2 separate regions of the Homo sapiens genome follow, and region 2 is linked to region 1. Evidence: promoter capture Hi-C in human tissues and cell types (Jung and others, 2019). All regions are on one chromosome and are shown on one strand. Each heading gives the region's core, a stretch centred on a gene start or on the middle of the fragment in contact. The rest is flanking DNA. Distances are from core to core; before and after follow the strand shown.

Region 1 (3,966 bases), core at 1,263-3,762:
CCCACACTCCCGGGACACCCACAACCCCCGGGACACCCACGCCCCCGGGACACCCACACTCCCGGGACACCCTCGCCTCCGGAACACCCACACTCCCGGGACACCCTCGCCTCCGGAACACCCACACTCCCGGGACACCCACGCCCCTGGGACACCCACACTCCCGGGACACCCTCGCCTCCGGAACACCCACACTCCCGGGACACCCTCACCTCCGGAACACCCACACTCCCGGGACACCCACGCCCCCGGGACACCCACACTCCCGGGACACCCTCGCCTCCGGAACACCCACACTCCCGGGACACCCTCACCTCCGGAACACCCACACTCCCGGGACACCCACGCCCCCGGGACACCCACACCCCCGGGACACCCACGCCCCTGGGACACTCACACTTCTGGGATACCCTCGCCTCCGGAACACCCACGCCCCCGGGACACCCACGCCCCCGGGACACCCACGCCCCCGGGACACGCACACTCCCGGGACACCCTCGCCTCCGGAACACCCACACTCCCGGGACACCCACACTCCCGGGACACCCACGCCCCCGGGACACCCACACTCCCGGGACACCCACGCCCCCGGGACACCCACACTCCCGGGACACCCACGCCCCCGGGACACCCACGCTCCCGGGACACCCACGCCCCCGGGACACCCACACTCCCGGGACACCCTCGCCTCCGGGACACCCACACTCCCGGGACACCCACTCCCCCGGGACACCCACACTCCCGGGACACCCTCGCCTCCGGGACACCCACACTCCCGGGACACCCACTCCCCCGGGACACCCACACTCCCGGGACACCCACGCCCCCGGGACACCCACACTCCCGGGACACCCTCGCCTCCGGGACACCCACACTCCCGGGACACCCACTCCCCCGGGACACCCACACTCCCGGGACACCCTCGCCTCCGGGACACCCACACTCCCGGGACACCCACGCCCCCGGGACACCCACACTCCCGGGACACCCACGCCCCCGGGACACCCACACTCCTGGGACACCCACGCCCCCGGGACACCCACACTCCCGGGACACCCACACCCTTGGAGGCTGGTGTGAGCAGAGCCGGTGACCGCCCTGGGGTGAAAGCAGATTTGCATCAGAAAAGCTCTCAAGAACTGAGGAAAACCTGATGAAGAACACACGATTATCTGGAAGGAACAGAATGGAGCAAAGAAGATAAAATCGCCTGCACCCCAGTCCCAGGGAAGGCCAAGCTGGAGCGGTCACTTCCTCTCGAGCAGGGAACACCCTCCTTGGGGGGCACTGCAGTAGCCACCCCGCGGGCTGGCTCTTTGCCATGGGAGGGGAAGGAGGTGATGTTGGCCCCCACTGGGCCCCAGGACAAAACCAGTGGCAGTCCCTGCTCACCTCTGTGAGGCCCCGGCTTCCACGGCATGTCCCGTGTTTCTCCTCCTGAGGCCTTAGCGACCCCGCCTGGGGCAGGAAGGTGGCCGGGGTCATAAGGCCATGCTGTGAGCTAGGGCTGCAGCCCCACATCCCAGGCACTGTCCCTCACAGCCCACCCCCCACTCGCCATCCCCACACGCCATCCCCACGCCCCACTAGCCATCCTCACGCCACACCCCCTACTCGCCATCCCCATGCCCCACTCACCATTCCCAGGCCCCAGCCCCACTCGCCATCCCCACCCCCCCATGCCCCATCCTCTGCACCCCACACGCCCTTTCCATGCCCCATCCCCCACACCCCACATGCCCCATCCCCGACACCCCACACACCCCATCCCCCACACCTCCATGCCCCATCCCCTGCACCCCACACGCCCTTTCCATGCCCCATCCCCCACACCCCACACACTTTCCCACACCTCACCCCCACACCCCATGCCCCACATGCTGTTTCCCAGGCCCCACCCCCCCACGGCCCATCCCCCACACCCCACACGCCATCCCCACCCCCGATCCTCCACACCCCATCCCCTACGCCCCACATGCCGTTTCCCACACCCCATCCCCCATGCCCCAGGCGCCATCCCCCACGCACCGTCCCCTACCTGTGCTCCCCAGCCTGGGAGCACCCTGTGCGCACTTCCTGCACTCTGAGAGGCCCCAGACTCCCTGCGCTTGTCCGACCTCACAGGCAGGGGCCCATGGGGGCCAGGAAAGCACCACCCACTCCTAAAGTTCTTTGAAAAATAATCCCGCCAAAGCCTGGGCCACCAAGAAGGGCCTCCCCTCCTGTGCCTGGATGCTGGTTTCTAGAAGGAAAGAAATTGAACAGGAGCCGCCAGAAAACCCTCCTGGTGGATGGGGGTGTCCGGAGCAAGGGCGGGGTTTGGGAAGCCCGGGCTGGCTCCTGGATTTGCCCACTGCCCTTCCACCAAGTTTATGGAGAAAACCTCCCCGGACGCACCTGCAGCCAGGCAGCCCTGAAGCCCAAGCAGAAGGCAGAGGAGCCTGAGGGCCTGGGAGACCATGATGAAATCTCTGCAGTGCTGCCCCTGCCTGTTGACATTCCCCATGGGACTGACGGGCAAAGTTCTCTGCCTCCAAGGGTGACAGAGGGATGGGGGAGGGGAGGACACAGGCGTCCTCTGAACACCCCAGCTGAGAGCTGCACCTGGCCGGCCAGTGGCCATGCATCCCCTGCTGCCCAGCCACTGAGCTCAAGTGGGGGGGACAGGAGAAAGGTCAGGTGACCCCAGCTGTGCTGCAGAGCGGACGGTTTTGTTGCCAGCGTGCAGGTGTTAAGGTGTGTGTGGCACCAACACTTCAAATACGATCTAGAATTCCAAACCCCTAATGTAAGTTGGGAAACAGATTTAAACTGCAGATGAAAACTTGTCCCATAGCAATCATGCGAGTCAAATCTCAAGACTGTATCTTGGGTGTGGATGTAAATATTTGAAGAGAGCCTCCAGACCAGGCCAGCTAGGCCGTTGCCTGCAAGGGAGGCTGGTTTCTTAGGTGAGCCACAGAGCCTCACTGAGAAGTGCCGGGAATAGGATCATTCTGGCCCTGAGCTGGGCACCCCCACTCCGTTTTGACTGCAGGCAGCACCCCCATTCTCCAGCGGTCCACATCTTACGTCTTTTTGTTTGTTTTGTTTTGTTTGTTTGAGACAGAGTCTTGCTCTGTTGCCAGGCTGGAGAGTGCACTGGTGCAATCTCACTGCAACCTCCACCTCCCGGGTTCAAGTGATTCTTGTGCCTCAGCCTCCTGAGTAGCTGGGACCACAGGTGCACGTCACCATGCCTGGCTAATTTATATATATATATTTTTTTTTTTTAGCAGAGATGGGGTTTCACCGTGTTGACCAGGCTGGTTTCGAACTCCTGACCTCAAGTGATCCACATGCCTCAGCCTCCCAAAGTGCTGGGATTACAGGCGTGAGCCACTGTGCCCGGCTGGCGGCAGTCCACGTCATTTCTACCTGCTGTCATGGGCCCAAGCCACAAGCTGTGGTGACTAACCACCCCAGGTTGCCCAGGGACTGAGGGTTCTCAGAATGTGGAACTTTCCATCCCAAAAACACTGGGGTAGACGGTCATCCAAGCCTCCTGGGTTGCCCAGCAGGCCTGTCTGACCCCTCAAGCAGGGAGTATCCTCCATGTGAACAGTTGCATTGCTGATGACTTCTTTGGAAGCTGATGTCCAGTTCTTTTTACGGCTGGAGGGAGGGAGGTGATTCCTTCCCAACAGCCAAGTCTTAGCTCAGGGGTGCCTTTCAAAGCAGCCCCCAGCACCCCCAAAGCCTCCCTGCTTGCTGCTGACCTGCATCTCAGTCCAGAGAGCAGAGCACTTGCTGAGGGGCCGACAGGGCATGTTTTCTCTTCCACCCAGCACAGCTGAAGCCCATCTGTGCCCCTCCATGATATCGATCCCAGGGAGATCGCTTACAAAGTAGCTGCTCCGTCTGGAATAAAGCTCACGTCCAGCTCAAATCTGGTCCCCGCGGCTCTCGGCCAGCACAGCCCAAGGT
Region 2 (3,835 bases), core at 355-2,854, 160 kb before region 1:
AATGGTATATGCATAGAAAAGATTCTCGCATACCTGCTCGCAGCCTTCCAGAACTCCATTCTGGAGTTGAGCCGTCGTTATTCACACGTACACGGGCCGCACACACAGTGGTGGCAGGACGGCACTGCTCTCTTTTCTTACGTGGTATTTCTTGACACTCACTCCAAATGGACATCTAGATCTTGGTTCAAGCTGCATGGTCAGAATATCACACATGCATGGACTTAGCACATGGTCTGTTTCCTTATTGAAGGACATTTAAGGTATTTTCTGTGTGTGCGAGAACAGTACTAGAAATCATTCTACGTGAGTGAAAGGAACTTACTGGGTCAAAGGTGTGGGCATTTTCGAATTTAATATACCCTCACAAATTTACCTGAGAGACCATCATTTCACAATGTCTCAGATCCCTCGAGCTGACCTCCCTCACCAGAGCCCACCAGCCTGTCCCCCATCACTGCTGGGCCTCTCACTCTCACATGGCCCAACTGTCACCTCTGCCCCCTCCAGCCCTTTCTGAATTCAGTCTGTTGACAAAACCTCCATCTCCTAAACGTTCTTACTAGGCGGTCCTAACACCTGCACTCCTCTTCCCCTGAACTTCCCGGGCTGCTGCACAAGGCCTGGGCCTGGCCACTGCCTGGTTTCTCCTTCCAAACCCACCACAGGGTGCCCATGCCTCCGTGGAGGGGGCAGAGGCCCGCTGCTCACTTCGTGACCCTCCCCCTGGGGCTGCATCTGGGGCGAGGCCCTCCCTTCTGCCCATTGCTGCTTCCAGGCCATGCTCCTTCCATGCTGCTGGACACCCCGGCGGGGGTGCGCCCTTCTCACTGGCTGGCCCACCTCCAGGCCTCAGGGCTGTCCTGCACTCAGGGCCTCCATCACTGGCTCCTGTCACCGTCCCTGACTGCTGGACGACCATCAGGTCTTGTCTCCCATGCTCTGGCCCCAGTTCCCCGTCTGTCCTCACCCAGACCATCATTGCCAACAGCTGCGCCCTCCAAGCTTACCTCCTAAATCTTCATGTTACATGACCCCCCCACCCTCCAGCCTAGGGCCATGGTCACCGTCACAACCAATGTCTCCCCCGGCACCACACCTATGGCCAGCCCTCACCTGCCCCCACTCCCTGTGCCCTCGATCCTGCCCTCTCCTGGGATATTAGGGCCTTGCTGCAGGACAATGCCCAGTCACCTGCCACTGAAATGCAGCTCTGCTCCTGCGACCTCTTGGAGTCATTCTCAGCCGCTGTTCATCTGTTCTTGAAAGCAGGTCTGCCCTCACGGTACCCGTTTCCTCTGCTCCCACTCTCTTAAAGCTAATGAAGAACTCACTTATCCGAAGGCTTGTTGCTGGTCTTCTTGCTGACTTCTAGTTCTGTTAACATTAAACTCATCAGTACTTTGTCGTACATTTTATCCAAGATGGTTCCAGTTTTTTTTTTTTTTTGAGATGGAGTTTTGCTCTGTCATCCAGGCTGGAGAGCAGTGGCGTGATCTCAGCTCACTGTAAGCTCCGCCTCCCGGGTTCACGCCATTCTCCTGCCTCAGCCTCCCCAGCAACTGGGACTACAGACGCCTGCCGCCACGTTGGGCTTTTTTTTTTGTATTTTCAGTACAGACGGGGTTTCACTGTGTTAGCCAGGATGGTCTCGATCTCCTGACCTCGTGATCCGCCCGCCTCAGACTCCCAAAGTGCTGGGATTACAGGGATGAGCCATGGTGCCCGGCAAGGGTTCCAGTTTTTTTAACCTTGTTTTCCCCCATGTTGACTTTAAAAGATGTCATTTAATGTCAATCCTTTTTTAAAAAAATCGATGTGAATTCACTAGATCACTTAGTGGAAAAACACAAATAAAGGGGCAACGGGTCCAAAAATCTTAGAAAGGAGGACTATATTTTTCTTTTTCTGAGTTCTATTGTACAGCATGGTGAATACAGTCAAAAATTGAGTATTGTACATTTCAAAATTGCTAAGAGTAAATTTCAGATGTTCTCACTACAAAAATGTTAAGTATTTGAGGTGATGGATGTAACTAGCTTGACTAGTCCACAATGTATGCATAATTTATAAGATCACTTTATACTCTATAAATTTATACAATAATAGTCAATTTACAAAAAAAGTATCTTATGATTATGGTTTCATATATATGTATTTTTTTACACGTAAATACTTGACCACTTGGAACTTCCCTTAGTATAAAAAGGAGTCTAATCCAACTTTTCTCTTTTCAAGGTGGCCCAAACTTCTGAGCATGGGTAGTTGTTGCAAAGTTCCAGTTCCTGATCACACACGGCCCCTTTGTGCCACGCCGAGTTCCTGTGTATTTGGCTTATTTGTGGACTTTCTTGTTCCAGGAATCTTTTTAAAGGGCCAGCATCATGCTGTTTCAATTACAATGTTCTAAAAACAGCAGAATTTAAAACAATTTGACTAGTCTGGCATATTTGCTTTTCTGTTTTAACTTTAGAATCCGCTTGTGTTTTAAAGGAAGGTTTTACATCTTAAGATACTGTATAGCAAAATGTGAGAATCAACAGAACTTTCACTTATTCAGGGCCTGTGTTCCTTAGTAATGTTATAATACCTTTCACATAGGTGTTTCCCTATTTGTTACTAGGTATTTTATCTTTTTTGGGGGTTGCTATTGAAAAAATGACTTCTGGTCAGGTGCAGTGTCTCATGCCTGTAATCCCAGCATTTGGGGAGGCTGAGGTAGGAGGTTCGCTTGAGGCCAGGAGTACAAGAACAGCCTTGGCAACATAGCAAGACACTGCCTCTATAAAAAATACAATAAAAATTATCTGGGCGTGGTGATGTACACCTGTAGGCCCAGCTACTCAGGTGGCTGAGAAGAGAGGATCGCTTGAGCCCAGAAGGTAGAGGCTGCCGTGAAACATGATCATGCCACTGCACTCCAGTCCAGGTGACAGTTAAGACCCTGTCTCTAAATAAAAATAAAAAATGACCCTCCATTATAGCCTATATTTATAGGAAAGCTACTGATGTTTTTGTTAATTTTGTGTCTGGTTAACTTGGTGAATTCTTTCTTCAGTCACAGATTTTCATTTGCTCCTTAGATGACCTGGGTATGCAACCATCTAACCTGCAAGTAATTTCACCTTCTCCTTTCCACTTTTACAGCATTTCTGTCTAAGTGCTGTTTCTTTTTCAATGATTTCTTCTATACTATTTGTTTTACCACACTGACCTTTAACAATAAAACATTAAATATTGCTAAATAAGAGAATAGATATAAATAGATTTTCCTTTCTTTTATAAAACAGAAACAGGCAGGCCGGGCATGGTGGCTCACGCCTGTAATCCCAGCACTTTGGGAGGCCAAGGCGGGCAGATCACCTGAGGTTAGGAGTTCAAGACCAGTCTGGCCAACATAGTGAAACCCCGTCTCTACAAAAATACAAATATTAGCTGGGCATGATGGCGGGTGCCTGTAATCCCAGCTACTTGGGAGACTGAGGTGGGAGAACTGCTTGAACCCAGGAGGCGGAGGGTGCAGTGAGCTGAGATTGCACCACTGCACTCCAGCTTGGGCAACAGAGCAAGACTCCACCTCAATTAAAAATAAATAAACTAAAATGGAAACAGGATCTCCCTATGGTGCTCAGGATGGTCTGGAACTCAGGCTCAAACGATCCTCCCACCTTGCCCTCCCATAGCTGGGACTACAGGCGTGAGCCACTGTGCTCAAATGAAACAAAGGCACAGCACAACGAATCGTCCAAGTAAAAAAGACCCACTTGTCACTACCTGGCCCCACTGGTATTTTGTGGTAGAGGTGGCCAGGAAAGAATAATCACTTGAGAGGGGA

What was found. The method cuts DNA at HindIII sites, captures the fragments that hold promoters and counts their contacts. A contact is called where the count stands out against the background at its distance.
Region 2: a contact is called between a fragment that was not itself captured here and the fragment with the promoter of F7 in region 1, in 1 of the 25 tissues and cell types used here (spleen).

The regions. Positions count from the first base shown.
Region 1 is chr13:113,104,337-113,108,302 of GRCh38, reverse strand. It overlaps F7 (coagulation factor VII), which reads right to left and starts at 2,512. Exons shown (of 8, transcript NM_019616.4): 1 at 2,398-2,512. The coding sequence starts at 2,461. The HindIII fragment of the contact is 23,631 bases long and covers 1-3,966 here.
Region 2 is chr13:113,265,151-113,268,985 of GRCh38, reverse strand. It overlaps CUL4A (cullin 4A), which reads right to left. Exons shown (of 20, transcript NM_001008895.4): 20 at 1,878-3,835. Among named protein-coding and RNA genes, the nearest start is that of MIR8075, 4.1 kb to the right of the region's middle. The HindIII fragment of the contact is 7,439 bases long and covers 1-3,835 here.